Linked DNA regions of Homo sapiens: regions 2 and 3 are each linked to region 1. Evidence: promoter capture Hi-C in human tissues and cell types (Jung and others, 2019). All regions are on one chromosome and are shown on one strand. The core of a region is centred on a gene start or on the middle of the fragment in contact, and the rest is flanking DNA. Distances in the headings are between cores, read along the strand shown.

Region 1 (3,215 bases), core at 410-2,909:
TCTGCAGGAAAGGGGCACGGGTGGGGGAACCACACACAAGCAGCCCAGGTCAATCATGAGAAAGAATCTCCCGCACAAATCACACCATTTCTCTTCAAGGAAGAATGACTGTCCAGAGCTTCCAAACTTGCTCTTCCCATGACAGACAGGGATGCTGGCAGAAGAGAAGAGGAAACATTGAGGAATTCCTGCCTTGACACATGGCTTCAAGTCAGGGCTCCGCTGGGAAAATTCGGGTCACAACTTGTAGCTGAAACTCCACGTGCACCCTGCGGGGCCGCTGCTGCTCCCAGCACCCTACGGAAGGGTGAGCGCCAGACCCTGTGCCCAAACCTCACAGCGGCAGACCTGGAGAAACCCATCCCCCTTCTTCAGAGCCGCCCCCCAGGCTATATTTTTGGCAGCCTATAATACACAAAATAGTATTCCCATACAACAGGAGTGCTCCAAAATTATTTCCAAATAGGTCAGTGCCACCAGGGAAAGTCAATCCCAAATTCCAGAAATCTCCCTGGTCATCTCAATCCCCTCCTCCCCCGACAGCCGGCTCGGCCCTCCAGAGGCCACCTTTCCTCTCAAGGGTCCCCACGCCCTCTCCCTTTACAGAAAAGGCTTTCAGGAAACAGCCTTCCTTTCCTTTCGGCTCCTTAGTAGTCTCACCTAAGGCCTCCCACCCAAGTGCTCCAGGACAAGCACCTTCGGCCAAGGGGCGTCCGAGGAGCTTGGCTGCCGCACGAGCGCACGTTCACACGCGCGCACACACACATGCACACAAGCGCGCACACACACTTGCACACGAGCCCTCTCTCCCGGCCGCCCCCATCCTCCACACACTCCCACACACTCACTCCAGGCGAAGTTAGTCCCCGGGCCCTGGCGGCCGCGGCGTCCTCACCTTTGGAAAACAGGGCGGCCAGGCTGATGAGTACCGGCGACCAGTGGTGCCACAGCGTCCCCATCTCAGACGGGCACATCCTGGAGACCCGGAGCGCAGATCCTCCGCTCCCCGGCGCCGTCCAGGCGAACAAGAGACCGTCTCAGTCCCCTAGAGGCCCGCAGCGGGGCCGGTGGCGAGGGAGCGCCCGGCTAGGGGCCCGAGCAGCCCGGGCGCCCTGCTCCCTCTTCCCGCCAGTCCATGGCCAGGCCGGGAGGCGACGACCGCGCGGGCTCCTGAGTTGCTCTCCGGAGTCCAACACGCGCGCAGGCAAACCCCACCTCCCTCCTTCGACCCCAACAGAATTTTTTTTAAATTTTAATCCACAGGGGGTATTTCCTTTCCTGTTTACCCGAGCGAAGAGTGGCCCCCGGTGGCCCAAGGAGGGGCGCCTCCAGGCGCAGGGCTCCGGCGGCTCCAGCTGCTCCCGGGCTGGCTAGCGGGCGCTGGCGCAGGCGGCGCCGGGGTGGCGGGGCTGCGGAGCCCGGGACGCGGGCAGAGGCGGCTCGGAGCCCCCCGGGCGGGTGGCCGGGCTCGCTGGGCGGCCCGGGGCTCCCTGGCCCGCAGCCCCCATCCCAGGCCGGCCGCTGCGCCTCGGGGCTCGGGCGCGCGCGCGCTCCGGCACCCAAAGTTTGGCGGGTGCGGCTGCTCCCCGGCCGCCGCCTCGGCCCGCCCGGCCCCGGGCCCGGCTGGGGCTCGCGGGGCTCTACGCGCGCCGAGCGCACTGCAGGCTCCGGAGACGCGGGGCTCCCCCCTGCGCCCGGGGGAGGCGGGCCAGATGTGCGCGGAGGAGGGCCCGCCGGCTCGGGGACGCGGCCGAGCAACGCAGCTGCCTCCTGCCAGCAGGCGCGGGGGCTCCGCTCCGCAAGGACCGCATCCGGAACGGAACGGAGGCGATCGCCACGGTGCCCGGAGCCGGCTGGGGCTTTCGCCTTAAAAATTTGTCTGCTTTTAAAAAGCCCCACCCTTTCGGAGTGACAGCTGTGAGCCCCAATCCGCAAAGTAAATCCCACCTCCCCCTGGCCGCCCCACGCCCAGCCTCCCGGCCACCCTCCCTGCGAGCGCGGACGCGCGGTGGCGGCGGGCGAGGGCTCCCAGCGCGGGCGCACCCCGGGGACGGAGCCACCCACTCTCCCAACAGGTGTCCAGCTGGCCACCGGCCTCTCGTCGTCATCAAAACCTCAGGCCCAGGGGAGGTCCTCCAGCCCGGGGGCACCTGAGGCTCTTCGCCAGGGAGAGCGCAAGGATGGCTGGAGAAGGGCCCTCGCCCCGCCCTGCGCATCTCCCAGGGATCGCAGTGAGGAAGTCTCTGACACGCCACACTGAGGTCATGCTGGCCCCAAGCCCCTTCCCAGAGCGATCCCCCAAGTTAGTGTCCCTAGAAACATGTCGTGTGCTCCCCAGGGCTCACTGGGAAAGGAAATGGATCCATTAGGAGACAACATTGCTTTGAGAAGATAAAAGACATGATTCTCAACACCGCCCGGAATCTCCAACTAAGACATTCCCACACCAAGATCCCTAAGCACCGTCCTGTAATTTGTAGCCCAAGAACTGCTTTGCTCCACGAGAGCCTTTAAATTAACCCCATCAAAGCTCAGAGGGAAGAAAAGCATTCAGAATTTTTAAGGAATATTGTAAACCAACAAGCCCTGAATCTAATGAGGTGAATTCACCTCAGTAGATAAAAATGGGTCGTTATCATCTGACTGAGGGGGCAATGGACTTTTTTATCCTGTATGCCTGTAGTTGCAGAAATATACCAATGCTTTAAGAGTTTTTAGCTTTCAAAGTTTCAAGGAAGATCAAAAAAGCCACTGCTGTTCTACCGAAGATTGTTTTTCTGGGTTCATGTCCTTTGAGATGTGCTCTTGTCTTTTATTCTGTATCTACTTATCTGAATATATCTGTCTTTCTGTTTTTTCTTTTGTTTGTTTCTTAAACTTGTTGCCTTTTCTCTTTGTATTGCTCTCCTGTAAAATTCCTAAGAGTCGACGCTGCAAAGACCCTAAGAGATTGTCTCTTTCACTGTTTCTGAAGTTTGAACCAGCAGGAGAGTCACTGGAAAATTTGTTAGACCTGGGTTGCTGGGCCCACCCCAGAGCTATCTCGGCAGGTCAAGGTGGGACTTCCGATCTCCGTTCCTAAAAAGTTCCAGGTGATGCTGATGCTGCCGGCCTGCGGAACACGTGCTGGAACCACTGGTCCCCTTTCTCCTTCACCTGAGTGATGAGAGAGCTGAGCTTTCGTCTCTTGGACACCTTCACCTGGTCTCTGAGTG
Region 2 (3,140 bases), core at 361-2,860, 580 kb before region 1:
GAGTCTCACTCTTTCGCCCAGGCTGGAGTGCAGTGGCGCGATCTCAGCTCACTGCAAGCTCCACCTCCCAGGTTCACGCCATTCTCCTGCTTCAGCCTCCCCCGACTAGCTGGGACTACAGGCGCCCGCCACCACGCCCAGCTAATTTTTTTGTATTTTTAGTAGAGACGGGGTTTCACCGTGTTAGCCAGGGTGGTCTCGATCTCCTGACCTCGTGATCCACCCGCCTCGGCCTCCCAAAGTGCTGGGATTACAGGCGTGAGCCACTGCACCCGGCCGAGGCAGACCTTTTCAGTCCATCCATGCGTGGGACGAATGTTTCCTTCCTGCTCTTTGTCGGACACACAGATATGTCTATGTCTTTTGCTGCATTGGCACTGTATATTCTTACTAGTATAGTTCCATGCTTAAATCCTGGTGGTGTAAAAGCATCAGTGCTGGAGTCAGACATCCATTTTAGTCATGTGACTTCCAGTAAGTTATTTTCTTTCCACCAGCCTTAATTTTCTCATCTGCAAAATAGCCACGATGGCCATTTCTCTTGATGGTAGAGCATTGATACAATGACCTTTTCAATCTATCCATACGTGGGACGAATGTTTCCTTCCTGGTTTTTGTCGGACACACAGACATGTCTATGCCTTTTGCTGCATTGGCCCTGTATATTCTTACTAATATAGTTCCATGCTTAAATCCTGGTGATGTAAAAGCATCAGTTTTGGAGCCAGACATCCATGTTACTCATGTGACTTCCAGTAACTTATTTTCTTTCCACCAGCCTTAATTTTCTCATCTGCAAAATGGCCATGCCATGATGGCCATTTCTCTTGATGGTAGAGCATTGATACAATGTTTTGTGAAGAGGCTGCATGGTGTGAACCAGGTAGCAACATGCAACAACTGTCCAGACACTTAATAAAGAAGACATTCCGTTTATTTTGTAGAGCTGAATCGTTTCTCGGTGGTTGAATTGCATGTTTATTACTATCTCCCAATTTTATTACTACAAGGCAAATTCCTTTAAATCCAGGAAGGATTTTTTTCTAGAAAGATATGGGTTCTAGGTTCCATCATTACACCAAGGTTGTTACACTAGAAGGCTAAATTTGCCACCTGTTTGATATCTTAGGAAAGAATTTAACTTTTCTGTTTTTCAAAGATGAATCTGTTGCATACAGTAAGAGGTGTGTAATACTTAATACTCTCACATTAAGTAAAATAATTAACTGGCTAGTCACACACATTTTCAAAATGGGAATGACAGATTTAATAGATAGGACTCTCAGATCTCTGTTAACATGCTTTGCAAAATCCTTTCCTTAATCATTGCATTGCTTTTCCATATGTTGTCTTATTATACTTGCATATAACTGCAAATTCATGAGGACGAATAGGCTCCATTTCCATTTAAAAATTGTCAGGAAAATAGATCTGCGTGGAACCATACAGTGCAGTTTAAGTATTTCCTTCCAGTTTGTTGCTGACAGGTTTAGGAAAAATAAGTTCTGTAAAAAGTCACTTTGAACTGTAACTACCATATCCCTTAGGTAGTAATTTTAAAGAATTCTACTGCAGGGAGGCCTTTCTGTTGTTTAATGATACAGCTACCCATAAGGCATTAAAATGTCCCTTCTTCCCATTCCTATTTACCTTACTCGTGTTTTTACAATTTAAAAAAAAAGCGTAAATAGCAACTTTTCCCATCTTTTCTGATCTAGGCATAATATTCTCTGATGCACACCATCGTTTCATTAGAGAAATTGATATAAATCCACCTGCTATAGCCTTGGGGATTAACACCAAACTCTGTGAACATGCTGCAAAGAGAAAAACAAACAGAAAAAAAATATCTAGCATTAGATGAATTAACAAACCAAAAAACCACTGCTGGTGAACCGAAGAAAATTAAATTGATTCTGAAGAAAAGTGCTGATTCTTTAGGAAAATGTGATTAGAGGTAGCCTGGCCTGGAGCTTAAGATTGTCAAAAAACACTGTTACATGTTTGTCAAATCCTTTTTGATGGGAAGTTCACAGGTTATAAAAAAAATACATTTCAAAGCTTTAAATCTTAGCTGAAGCCTAATCCTCAATGTTGCATATCACCAACCAAGCACTTTGATTTAGGTATCAATGACCAGCTACACTGGACAGGTATGCTGGCTTCATTCAGGGTCACAGTGCTAGCCATGTCATCTTGAAGGCAGGAGTCATCTCTTCCCTGTCTAGCCACGTGTGTTTCATTAATGAGGAATAGTGGGTAGGTCCTTTCTTCACATGCCTCTCTATTATTTTGATTTTTCAAGCACATTTTCTATAGGAAGTAGGTTTTATTTTTTTTTTTTGAAGGTTTTAAGATTTGTTTTGTAAATAAATGGAAAAGCAGTTACCTCCTTCACCCAAAATTCCATATAACCATATCTGTCCTGTGATTTTTTGGCTGAGGATTTTCTTTTTTTCAAACTTCATGTGTTTCCCAGCTTCTGCTCCTTTCTATTGGAAGCCTGAATTTATCCAAGTATCCATCTTTTACTGACTGCATTTACAGGAAGCTGATCTTAGTGAGTTATGGTGATACTGTCCCCATGGTTATGATGAGTTTAGGAAGTCTGTCTTAGCCTGGCCTGGGTATCTGGTGATTGTTACCAGTTTAGGGTAGGTTGATGGCCTAATTGGACACAGTCTGACTGTTCGCATAACCAAGCGAATCCAGTCTTAAACAGTGGACCAATACATTCTGATTTCTGCATAAACCAGTTTGGTTTGAATTTGAAAAGGTCCTAACAGATGCAGCATTTTGCCATTTGGTGCCTGCCTGATAGAAGAGTTTAGACTCCACACACACAACACAGCTATTATTACTTACTATGTAAAATATCATAGATTTATTTAGTCTTTTCATCCCTAGAGGACATTCAACGTTACTTTTACCTTAATTTCTTGAAAAACTTGCAGAAGAAAAAAGTGATGGTCAGGGGCAGTGGCTCACACCTGTAATCCCAGCCCTTTGGGAGGCAGAGGTGGGTGGATCACGAGGTCAGGAATTCAAGACCAGCCTGGCTAAGATGGTGAAACCCCATCCCTACTAGAAATACAAAAAATTAGCCAGACATAGTGGCGGGCACCTGTAATCCCAGATAC
Region 3 (2,970 bases), core at 398-2,897, 900 kb before region 1:
CATGCAGGACAGGGAAGGTGGGACAGGCGTCTGCAGGGGCCACAGGCTCATTGAGGGACAGAGAAGGTGGAGTGTACTCAGGAGGCTGAGGCAGGAGAATCACTTGAACCCAGGAGGCAGAGGTTGCAGTGAGCCAAGATCGCACCACGGCCCTCCAGCCTGGGCGACAAGAGCAAAACTCTGTCTTAAAAAAAAAGAAAAAAGAAAAAAAAAAGAGGTCATCACAACTTGGAAGCTTAAAACAACAGAGATTGTCACCCCACAGTCTGGTGGCTGGAATCTGAAATCAGGGATGGCCAGGGCTGTGCTCCCTTCAGAGGCTCTAGGGGAGGCTCCCTCCTGCCTCTTCTAGCTCCTGCTGACTCCAGATGTTCTTTGGCCTGAGGCCGCATTGCTACTATCTCTGCTTCTGTGTTCACGTGGCCTCCTCCCTGTGTCTCTCTGTCTTCTCCTCTTCTCTCTCTTGTCAGGATCCTCATTCTCAGCCTTAGGACCAAATCCAGGATGACCTCATCTCAAGATCCTCACCTTGGCTGGGTGCAGTGGCTCACGCCTGTAATCCCAGCACTATGGGAGGCTGAGGTTGATCACTTGAGGCCAGGAGTTCGAGACCAGCCTGGTCAACATGGGGAAACCCTGTCCCTACTAAAAATACAAAAATTAGTCTGGCATGGTGGTGGGTGCCTGTAATCCCAGCTACTCCGGAGGTTGAGGCATGATAATTTCTTGAACCCAGGAGGCGGAGGTTGCAGTGAGCTGAGATCGTGCCATTGCACTCCAGCCTGGGTGACAGAGCAAGACTCTGTCTCAAAAAAAAAATTCTTGCCTTCATTATATTTGCAAAGATACGTGCTCCAGATAAGATCTCATGCTTAGGTTTTGGGTAGACATATCTTTGGAGGGCCACGATTCAACCCACTACACCAGTGCAGATACATTTTAGCCAAGCTAAGACCATCCATTTATGTGCCAACCCAGGACCTCCATGTTTCCAGAATAAAATGTGCATGTCACCCTCCAGAGCTTCTCAACGCACCTGGGCCCCCTGCACGAATAAGCTGTCCACTATGTGGATTGCTTAGGCAATTAGCCACTGCTATAGCAGGGGTGGGGGCGAGAGGATGGGAAGCGGGGACATTTTACACCGAATACTGATGAAATCAGTCAGAGCATTTGCTCTCTGCCCTGTGGAATTAGAAGGCAGGTTGGTGGAAGAAAGGAAGACATCAAAGTGCCGGCTAAAGACGCAAACACCTTAAAATCACCAAGCTCTCACGTGCTGCTAGAGGGATTGTCATTGGTAGTTTGGCACAAGCTTTCTTTAGAACTACTTGGTATATATATATATATATATACATATATATATATATACATATATATATATATATACACACATACACACACATATATATATTTTATATTTATTATATAGAATAGGTAAACATGTATATATATTTATTGAAATGATGCATACATATGCATAAACCAGAGCTTGTAGTGGTATGCACGTGTGTATTTGGGTGATAAGGTTATGAGTAATTTTTATTTTCTTATGCATTTTTTTTGTAGTTTTTCAGGTTTTCCAAAGTGAGCATTTTTTGGTAGATTAAAACATGATATTTTAAAATGAATTAAGGGAATGAAGCAGAAAACATAATTACTAAGTTCTGACTCATCCCTCAGTGACTGTGTCTCTGGTTCCTACCAGGTCCAAATGCCAACAGGAGGGGCGAATGTGTCATTTCTGGAGTGAACTAGCTGAAGGCATGGCATAACATGAAGGGCACCTTTCCATCTTCTTCCCCGGCGTCTCACTGGAGATATTTCATCCTAAAACCTCATGAAATCTTGATCCAAAGCTCAAAACATGTGTTGTGTAGGTATTTCCTGGGCTTCTGGCTTAAGGCTGTGTTTTGGTCTTCTAGCCAGTACTTAATGAAATGGCAGAAAGAAAGAGTTGGACATAAAGGTCGGGCACACTTCAAATACAGTGCTCCAGGATTAAACGTTGAAATGTTCATTTCATACACAGACGGGCACATGACTTTAATCTGTGAGGGTTTTAAGAGGGAGATCGGGAGTAACCTCCCACTCAAATATGGCATGGTGTTTAACGGATCAATATGGCCATTGCAGTTCTTAACTCAGTTGAAATTAGCTGTTTTGCGGCTGTCAGTGTATCAGCCATGCCAAGTTTTTTGAAGGCCCTACAGAGTGAAATCCTGACATTCGGTGGCGAGTGTACTCAGCAGATTAATTGCAGCGATTTGGGATGCCAGCTTTAATTCAGAGTCAACCCGAGTGATCTAAAGACATAATGGCCAGCCTGAGAGTCCCAAATTAACCAAATGTGAATTACTTCTGAGCTCTCAGAGCTAAACTTGCCTTTTCTTGTTTAACAACCTCAGTTACTGAAATTTGAAAATCTCTCAAGAGAGGACTTTATTTTTTGCCGATGGAAGGTGGCAATGCTGAATTACTTGGGAAAAGGAAAACAGCTCTCTTTCTCTATGAGCAATTTATAACTCAAGTCAATTCAAAACATGTAATTAACAGCCCATTCTAATTGGAAGCGAAAGCATAATCCATCTTTGGATGTTCCTGTTCTTCCTCCGCTGGCTGAATCTTCACTGGTGAGCAATGAAGCTCACTGGCAAGGCTGCAGTCAAGGGAGGTCTTCTTGGTTCATCTTTTTCGTCTCTAACATTTCTGTGGAAAAAATAAAGAAACAGTTTGTCACAAGCGATGGAGGCTTCCATGTGGAAATCAACTATTTAATGCCTCAGTGGGAACTGAGAATTTTTCATTAACTTGTCCGGTGTAATTTCATCATTCCAGGAAGTATCCCTCTTTCTCCTGTTCTTTCAGGTCAGATGCAAAGTCACGAGAAAGTCAACAGCTCTATCTGGTGTCCTGCTGAGTGGCCGGGCAGCTTTCTTGGCGTGAACTCTGAGCATTCGTTGTCTCCTG

Evidence for each region. Contacts are between HindIII fragments. The study calls those that stand out against the background at their distance.
Region 2: a fragment that was not itself captured here is called in contact with the fragment with the promoter of TMEM132D in region 1 in 2 of the 25 tissues and cell types used here (lymphoblastoid cells and mesendoderm cells).
Region 3: a contact is called between a fragment that was not itself captured here and the fragment with the promoter of TMEM132D in region 1, in 2 of the 25 tissues and cell types used here (H1 embryonic stem cells and dorsolateral prefrontal cortex).

Annotation. Positions count from the first base shown.
Region 1 is chr12:129,902,366-129,905,580 of GRCh38, forward strand. It overlaps TMEM132D (transmembrane protein 132D), which reads right to left and starts at 1,660. Exons shown (of 9, transcript NM_133448.3): 1 at 896-1,660. The coding sequence starts at 974. The HindIII fragment of the contact is 10,076 bases long and covers 1-3,215 here.
Region 2 is chr12:129,321,581-129,324,720 of GRCh38, forward strand. The region is part of intron 4 of TMEM132D (transmembrane protein 132D); the gene reads right to left. Among named protein-coding and RNA genes, the nearest start is that of TMEM132D-AS2, 110 kb to the left of the region's middle. The HindIII fragment of the contact is 7,193 bases long and covers 1-3,140 here.
Region 3 is chr12:128,999,689-129,002,658 of GRCh38, forward strand. No RefSeq gene overlaps it. Among named protein-coding and RNA genes, the nearest start is that of TMEM132D-AS1, 110 kb to the right of the region's middle. The HindIII fragment of the contact is 5,326 bases long and covers 1-2,970 here.